2 separate regions of the Homo sapiens genome follow, and region 2 is linked to region 1. The links are contacts of gene promoters, found by promoter capture Hi-C in human tissues and cell types (Jung and others, 2019). All regions are on one chromosome and are shown on one strand. The core of a region is centred on a gene start or on the middle of the fragment in contact, and the rest is flanking DNA. Distances in the headings are between cores, read along the strand shown.

Region 1 (4,223 bases), core at 560-3,059:
ATTATTAAAATAAACGCTGTAGTTATCTGAGCGACTGTATTTTGTATCCGTCAAATCCACAAGTGTAGTAATTTTACCTTTCTGAAATATCTGCCACGCCACGCGTTCAAAGCCAGCAAGCTACTCCTCTCTCTGCAAGGCACTGAGAAAGTACGTGGAAAGAAGTGGGGAAAAGCACATTTAAGAAACAGGTTTTCTGCAGGATCACAATACTGTGACAACTGCCTATAAAAGAGTGTGGCTACTTTCCCGGCATTCGGTCCCCGTGACTACATAACTTAAGCACTGCATCTGTGGAAGTCTCTCCACTCAATGCTGGACCCTAATTAATGTATTTGAGATCCAGGCAGACATTGTCCCTGGGCTCAACGACTAACCTTCCTGAAAACACGCATTTCTCAGTATGCGCATAACGCAAATAGGTGCTCACAGGCATCCGAACAGTATGCTTCGAAAAGAAGCATTTTCCCAAGAAGCCCCCCCAACCCCCATCCCCCGCAAACTCCGGAATTGGGAGACACAACAGGTACTTCCACCTCGGAAGCGAAGGCCTTCTGCGACTCCTGCCAAGAAGGGCAGGGTGCCATGCGGTGGTCGCCTGGGCGCGTCCGGGGGGCTCGTCGCGGGGCCCGGGCCAGAGCCAGGCGGCGAGCACGCGGCGCTGCATGCGGGAAACCCGGGCGGCGCCTCCCGCCGCCCCTCAGCCCCGAGCCAGGGACCCCCAGGAGAGGCTGCGCTCCCACGACCCTCCGGACCCCCACAGAGGCTCACCAGGGCCGGCGCGCCAGGGCAGGTGGGCGCGGGGGCTGCACTGCGGAGCCGCAGCCTGGGTCGCCCTGGCACCCGCGGTCGCCACCCGCGCGGTCCGCAGCGGCACGCCGAGGGTCTCCAGCTCCCCGGCCCTCCCCGGCTCGCTCCCGGCTTTCGCAGACTTCCCCTGCTCCTGCCCCGGGTACGAGCCAAGCGCTCCGCCAGGCAGCGCCTTCCTCCTGGGCTGGGAGCGCGCGGTGCAGCAGCGACTCCAAGTCCCCTGGCCTCGAGCAGCCCGCGCGACACGCGCGCGACACCCCCGCGGGGTCCGAGTCCACCCCGCGAGCAGCGCCGGGACGCCGCGCGCCTCAGAGCCCCGGGGCTGACGCTGGCTTTCCAGGTGGGCGATCTCACCCCTCCGGCTCCCGTGATGGTGGCAACGGGTGTCCCCCACCCCCAACCGGTCACCGCGCCCTGGTGCCCCGTCCGGCAGGGATGAGCCGCCCGGACCCCGCTCTCTCCCGCGCCCGGCTTCAGCCCCGCAGTCGCCAGGGTAAAGTTTGCGCTCTGGCCTGGCTGCGCGCCCCGCCTGCTCTGCACCTCTCCTCCCCGGCCACGCAGCCTGCCGCTCAGGCGCCCCGAGGAGAAGGGTGCGGACCGAGCCGGGGCGGCCGGTCCTCTTCCCCGCTCGCGTCCTCTTACCCCACTGCCCCGGCCCAGCGCGCCCAGGGCTCACCCTGCGCGCCGGCCCCGGGAGGCGAGCCGTCGGTGAGGATGCATCCTCCTTCTCCTCCGCCTGCTCTCGCCCGGCTGGCAGGCGCGGAAGGCCGGTGCGGCGTCACCGCCCCATGCTGCCAGCGCGAACTTCCCCGGCACTCCCGGCGGAGCGGCTCTTGCGCCCCGCGCTCCCGCCGCCGCCCTGCAGCTCCGCTCCGCGCCGCGCCCCGGGCCGCGCGCCGCCCGCCGCAGAGCCCCCCAGCGCCCCCGGCGCACTCGCGCCCGCTCTCACCTCGCCCGAGCGCCACATGTCGTCTCTGGGCTGGAGGATCGGCCCTCTGCAGAGGTGCTCCGGTAGAGGCCGCCAGACGCTCAGCAAATGCGCCCTTGGCCGAGCTGGGCGGAGGGGGAGGGCGCAGGGCCCCCGGCTCGGCCTGCAAGGGGAGAGGCCCTGTTCTGCTGAAGTTTCTCCAGGGCCCTCAACAGCATCTTCGGCGCCTCGTGTAGTCACCACCGCCCGCTTGTAGAGCAGGGATGGGAGGGCAGTGTCAGCAGTCGGGTGATAGAGGCCTGGACTCCGACAGCTTTGCTCCCTAGAGCCGGCCCCAACGCCTCCCTGCCCAGGCCTGGGTCCTTCCCGGGTGCTCCATGGCACCCCTTACATGCGCATCTCTTAGGCGCTTCTGAAAGAAGCTGGCCTGTGGACATTCTTTTCATCTCACTCATAGACAGGAATGCATAACTACGGGAGGGAAAGCCAGGGTCACATTGGACTCGATTAGAATGAAATCCTTACCTAACGCAGTGTATATCTGGGGGTTTTCTGAAGTTCCATTTCTTGACAACAAGCCGCAGTGGCAAACGGGAAAGGGCCAGGAGCCCTGGGGGCTGCAGGTCGGAGAGCGCCTCTGGGGTGACGGGGCGGGATCTCCCCAGCAGGGCTTCCGAGCCACGTCGGGTCACTGCCTCATTAGCCACGTACATGGGGTCTTACTATGGTCATTACGTCGGTGTGTCGTCCGTCCTAGTGGTGCAGTTCCTGGGAGGTGAGGGTGGCATTAATGACAACTGCGCGGCAGCAGGGCCCCTTCAAACAACACAAGTAAGAGCGCATCGTCTTGGGTTTGCCAGGTCTTGCTTCCTCAGGAGGTGGGGGACTCTCGACTATAACACCCAGTGGAAAACGTTCAAGACTCAAAGGAAAGCCACTGAAAACGTGATGGGGAGGTTTACTTACACCATTGTCCCATTCCTTTTGTGAAACTGCATTATTCATAATCTCTTTTAACAGAATAATGGTAAGTAAAGGCAAATTCCTAACTCCCCTCCAGGAAAGATCTTTGACCTTCCAGTGTAGGAAGCCTCTCATTTTTCCAGTTATCTCTAATACAGTGTATTCCAAATCTAAGTTACCTGTTAATACTTCTGCACATTCCAGAAATTCTGAAATTTTCTGAAAAACAAAACTTGTAAATCTATTCCAGGAATAGGACATAAATATACATAAATGTGCAAATATACAGGAAGTGTTTCTCTGAATATACATTTAGCCACACTATTAAATAACTGTTTCCAGTGGTTCTTCAGGAAATATGAATGAAATAAGATGCTAATTTGAATTTTCTAATTCTAAAATGGATCACTGAACGTATGCATTTCTTCATTTTCTAATTTCCCAAAAGATGTACCACTAGGGTGAAATTCCTTGGGAGACATTAAATTTTAAAAAGTTAACAACATGGTTTTATGATCAGCCTAATATAATTTTCACCTATTAGGTGTTGGAATTCTAACACCTAATACCAGCGACAGCTGCTCTTCTCTCAGGATTAAACAGCATAATGCAAATCAAAGAGTTGGAAGAATTGGTAAATTTTAAACTTCACAGCTTGTCACACAAAGTCATTCGGTGTGAGTTTGCAAAAATAAATGTATATAAACAAGGGATGATTTTTGTATTAGCGAGGGTTATAGACATTAATTCTTAATAATAAAAGAAATGTCAGCTGTAAGGAAATATGTTCTTTTGATGGATTATGTTTAAAACTTCCACTTTTTTTGGTACACTTTCTATCAGCTTTATGTCCACACAACACATATTATTGAATATATAAAAATCATTTTAAGTTAGAGTCATTCTTTAACATTGTATTTCAGCATGTTGCTTAAATTCTTTTCTCTTCCCTGTAATGAAACGGTATGCCACTCTCTCTCCTCCTAGTGTTTATGTAACATAACATAGCCTCACTTTAGATGGACTGCCCTGAGGGGACAGTGAAATCGTAAGGCCCATCAGAACCTTACAGAAACTCACATTGCTAGAAGAGTGCTTACTACCATTTCAATGATTTTTGTTTTACTATAGAATTCTGTATTTGTGCTGAGAAATAATAGGCTATCCGTTGAATTCCCATTTGTTTCATTAGCATTTTCTCTTCATTGAATGAAATTAAGCAATGTCGTGATCGTTGTGGAAGACAGTAGAGGGCACCCTAGTTCCACACAACCTCAGCCTTGGCCCGGGCTTCATAAGAATTTCATTTCCAGTGTCAGAGCCTAAAATAGCTGAAGGTGGGGAAGCTGGGCCATGAGTAGAACACGTGTTCACAGAGCACCCACCCTGTACCCCGGTCAGGGGCAGGAACTGAGACAGTGGCTGTGTTTGCGTGGTTGGGTGTGGTAAATGTGGCTGAGACATGAACACAGTGCCATGGTATAAGTGAGATCATGTGCTATTTGTCTTTCTGTGCTTGGCT
Region 2 (4,223 bases), core at 809-3,308, 240 kb after region 1:
GGTGGAGGGTCTTGCCTCAGTGTTGATGGCTGCTGGCTGATCAGGGTGGTGGTTGCTGAAAGCTGTGGCAGTTTAAGACAACAATGAAATTTATTACTTTGGCTATTCCTTTCATGAAAGATTTCTCTGTAGCATTGGATGCTGTTTGATAGCATTTTACCCAGAGTAGAACTTCTTCCAAAATTGAAGTCAGTCCTCTCAAACCCTGCCACTGCTTTATCAACTAAGTTTATGTAATCTTCTAAATCCTTTGTTGTCATTGCAACAATGTTCACAACATCCTCACCAGGAGTAGATTCCATCTCAAGAAACCACTCTTTGCTCATCCATAGGAAGCAACTCCTCATTCATTCAAGTTTAATCATGAGATTCCAGAAATTCAGGGAAATCTTCAAGTTTCACTTCTAGTTCTGTTGCTATTCCCACCACATCTGCAATGACTTGAACCCCTCAAAGTCATCCATGAGGGCTGGAATCCACATCTTCCAAACTCCTCTTGGTGTTGATATTTTGACCTCCTCCTATAAATCATGAATGTTCTTACTGACATCTAGAATGACATCTAGTCCTTTCCAGAATGTTTTCAGTTTACTTTGCCCAGATCCGTAAAAATAATCACTGTCTATGGCAGCTACAGCCTTGTGAAATGTATTTCTTAAATAATAAAACTTGAAAGTCAGTTTCTCCTTGATCTATGGGCTGTAGAATGGATGTTGTGTTAGCAGACATGAAAACAACATTCATCTCTTTGTACATATCCATTAGAGCTCTTGAGTGACCAGGTACATTGAAAATGAGCAGTAACATTTTGAAAGGAATGTTTTTTCTGAGCAGAAGGTCTCAACTGTGGGTTAAAAATATTCAGTTTTGTAAACGTGTTGACACCCAGGTTTTATTGTTGGATTTTTTGAGCATAGGCGGAGTAGATTAGCAGAATTCTTAAGGGCCCTGGGATTTTCAAAATGGTGGGTGAGCATTGGCTTCAACTTAAAGTCAGCAGCTGCAATTAGCCCCTAGCAAGAGAGTCAGCCTGTCATTTGAAGCTCCGAAGCCAGACAATGACTTCTTCTCTTTTGCTATGAAAGTCCGACATGGCCTCTTCTTCCATTAGAAAAGACTTCTTCCAAAGTCTACTCTGAAAACCTGTTGTTTAGTGTAACCACCTTCATCAGTGATTTTAGCGGGATCTTCTGGATAACTTGCTGCAGCTTCTCCATCAGCACTTGCTGCTTCACCTTGCACTTTTATGTTATGGAAATGGCTTCGTTGCTTAAACCTCATGAACCAATCTCTCCTATCTTCTAACTTTTCTTCTGCAGCTGCCCTAACTCTTTCAGCCTTCACAGAATTGAAGAGAGTCAGGATTTTACTCCAGATTAAACTTTGACTTAAGGGAACGTTATGGCTGGTTTGATATTCTATCAATATCAGCAGTAAGGCTGTTGGACTTTCTTATCATTCCCCAGAGTAGCACTTTTAATTTCCTACTAAAACTTTTTCTTTGCATTCACAATTGGGCTAACTGGTAGAAAAGGCCTAACTTTGGGCCTATAAAAATCTTTTGCACATCAATCATTTGACCTGCCTCCCTCACTAAGCTTAATCATTTCTGGTTTTTCATTTACCATGAGAGATGGGCGACTCTTCCTTTCACTTAAACCCTTAGAGGCCATTGGAGGGCTACTAACTGGCCTAATGTTGATATTGTTGTGTCTCAGGGAATAGGGAGGCCCAAGGAGAGGGAGAGATACAGGGTTAAGGGTCAGTTGGTAGATCAGTCAGAGGACACACAACATTTGTACGATAAGTTTGCCATCTTATATGGGTGCTATTCCTGGTGCCCCAGAGTGATAATAATAGTAATATCAAATATCACTGATTATAGGTCACCATAACCAATATAAAAGTAATGAAATACTAAGATTGAAATCTTGTGAAAATTACCAAAATATGACCCAGAGACATGAAGTGAGCATATGCTGTTGGAAAAACAGTGTTGTTCAACTTACATGCTCAACGCTGGGTTGCCACAAACCTTCAAATTGTTAAAAATGCAGTATCTGTGAAGCACAGTAAAGTAAGGCAGGCGTGTATCTAATGATACAGATAGTTTCTTGTGCAGCCTGGGGGTCTGGCAAAAGAGGGAACGTTAGCAACTCAATTGGTGGAGGACGCGGGCTGCTTCTGTAAACGATATCAACAGTCTGTCTCATTTGGTGTCTACTGCTACCTCCCCAGCCCCTTGTCAGCCAGCAGGAACCATAGCAACAGGGATCCACCCTGCCGCAGAGTGGCCAGCTTGGCTGTTCTTTGAGAAGCTCCACCCTTCCCAGTCATTTCTTATTTTTGTACCCAGACGTCACCTGAGTCCACCTCGAGCATTAAGGTTAAAGAACAAAGGCTTAATTTCCATTTCATGTTCTGTGAGGAATCCAGTGTCCCCTCTGCTATTCCTTTAATCCTTGGAGCTTTTAAAGTCTCAAAGTATCTTCTGTTTCTGCAGACAGGCTTGGAATTCAAAACTCTGACAGACTCTCCATCCCATGCAAATTCCATCTCTTTGTGACTGTGCTCTTCTCTTTGGTTCATGCCACATCATTGCAAAGGTAAAAATTGGTGACTTCCCTGGGATGTATGGGATGCATTGAAGAAAAGGATACTTTTACAAAGCTTCTTTCTATAGCAGCTGTGCTAAATGTTTGGCGATGGGTTGGGTGTGGAAGGAGGAGTTGGTGGTGCCGGGGTTCTGATTACTGCCCTGAAGAACCCCCCTGCATGACCTGACTCTCCATGCTCAGAGACATCCTTTCAAAGCCCCACCCTGCCAAGCTCACTCCACTTTATTGTGAGGAACTGTTTAGCTCCCATCCCTTGGAGCTTCCACATTGAGAGCCAGGCCCTGAAAGGAGGTGGCCCGAACTTCAAGTTCCACTATCCCGGGTTACTAGTGTTTGAGGGAGTGGAGGGAGTGGATGAGGAGCGAGTTACTTCAGCTCTTCAATTTTTGTTACTTCATCGATATAGGATAATAATTATAATACCTGCCTCCTAGTTAAATGAGGTTCTAGGTAGCACAGGGCGTGGAGTTTGCTGAAGGATCACTCACACAAGCGGCTGCCCGCTGTTCCTGGCTCAGTGCTCACCACTGCACGTCACAAGGAGCGGCACCATGGCTCCCGTAACAGGAAAACCCTGCATTTGCTACTCCCGGCTGCACGAGAGTGGAGGGAGGCTTGGACCTTTCCACCACCCCCTTCCCTTTGTTGCCAGCTAGTAAGTATCCCAGAAAAAAAGGAGGACACTGATTTGTGCCCCCACTGATGTGATAGTCCTTGCCATACATGGCTGATCACATGCAGCGGGTTTGGATTTTCATACTGTTTTTTCCCTCTTGCTGTTACCTAAGCTCTTACCCACTAGTCTACTCAAGTCACCTCAGCAGACACCCAAGACCCAAACTGAGAGGCGCTGCTGGTGGTGCGGAGAGCGACACAGTCCAAAATAAGACGCGGAGCCCGAGCTGTCAGGCTGTGAGTGACAGCCGGGCTCCTAGGGCTGACTGACAAGTTCTCTCCCTTCTTGTGGCAAGCCATGTGCGAGCCCATCCGGAGGGACTCTGAGAAGGGCGCTAGACATCGCGACTCAGGCGTAAGCATGCGGGGTTAGGAGTAAAGAAAGAAACAAGTGAAACTTCTATTTCAATACGAGTGTAACATGGAGGGTGATAGTAGAGAAACTCTGTGGTCGCCACCACTAACACATCCTCCTTTTGTTGTGAAACCACAACTTTGCACGCCTCAGTTCCAGCGCACCGCCCACACCAGCGAAAGGTAATGGTGATGAAGGGGCGGAATATGCCCTGTGAAGGTGCATTCTCATCCTGATGTTCTGCATCAGCCCAGTGTCCGAGAACCTTTCAGGCCTTTGCTTTACCCACCACTCAGCACTGTCCACTCCTCGGAGGCCTCTGCACACCATCCCTTCTACCCCTTGAACTCACCATTGCTACGCTAGTTTTCCTCACAGGCGGCTTTGTGTTTTAAACTGGAGGTTTTATTATTATTTAGGTCAGGCAAGGCCGACAGATCAGGACACAACTGCCATTGAGAGGAGAGTGTGTTCCTTCCAGTTCTGGAGCAGCAGGGAGCCACACCATGCCATGGGGGCTGCTCAGGGAGTGCCAGGGTGGGTCAGGCAGCAGAGGGAGGGGAAATGCCTTTATT

Evidence for each region. The method cuts DNA at HindIII sites, captures the fragments that hold promoters and counts their contacts. A contact is called where the count stands out against the background at its distance.
Region 2: a fragment that was not itself captured here is called in contact with the fragment with the promoter of GABRA5 in region 1 in 1 of the 25 tissues and cell types used here (dorsolateral prefrontal cortex).

The regions. Positions count from the first base shown.
Region 1 is chr15:26,864,648-26,868,870 of GRCh38, reverse strand. GABRA5 (gamma-aminobutyric acid type A receptor subunit alpha5) reads right to left here and starts at 1,809. Exons shown (of 11, transcript NM_000810.4): 1 at 1,760-1,809; 2 at 78-142. The HindIII fragment of the contact is 20,920 bases long and covers 1-4,223 here.
Region 2 is chr15:26,623,815-26,628,037 of GRCh38, reverse strand. All of the region lies in intron 3 of GABRB3 (gamma-aminobutyric acid type A receptor subunit beta3), which reads left to right. Among named protein-coding and RNA genes, the nearest start is that of GABRB3, 150 kb to the left of the region's middle. The HindIII fragment of the contact is 3,725 bases long and covers 196-3,920 here.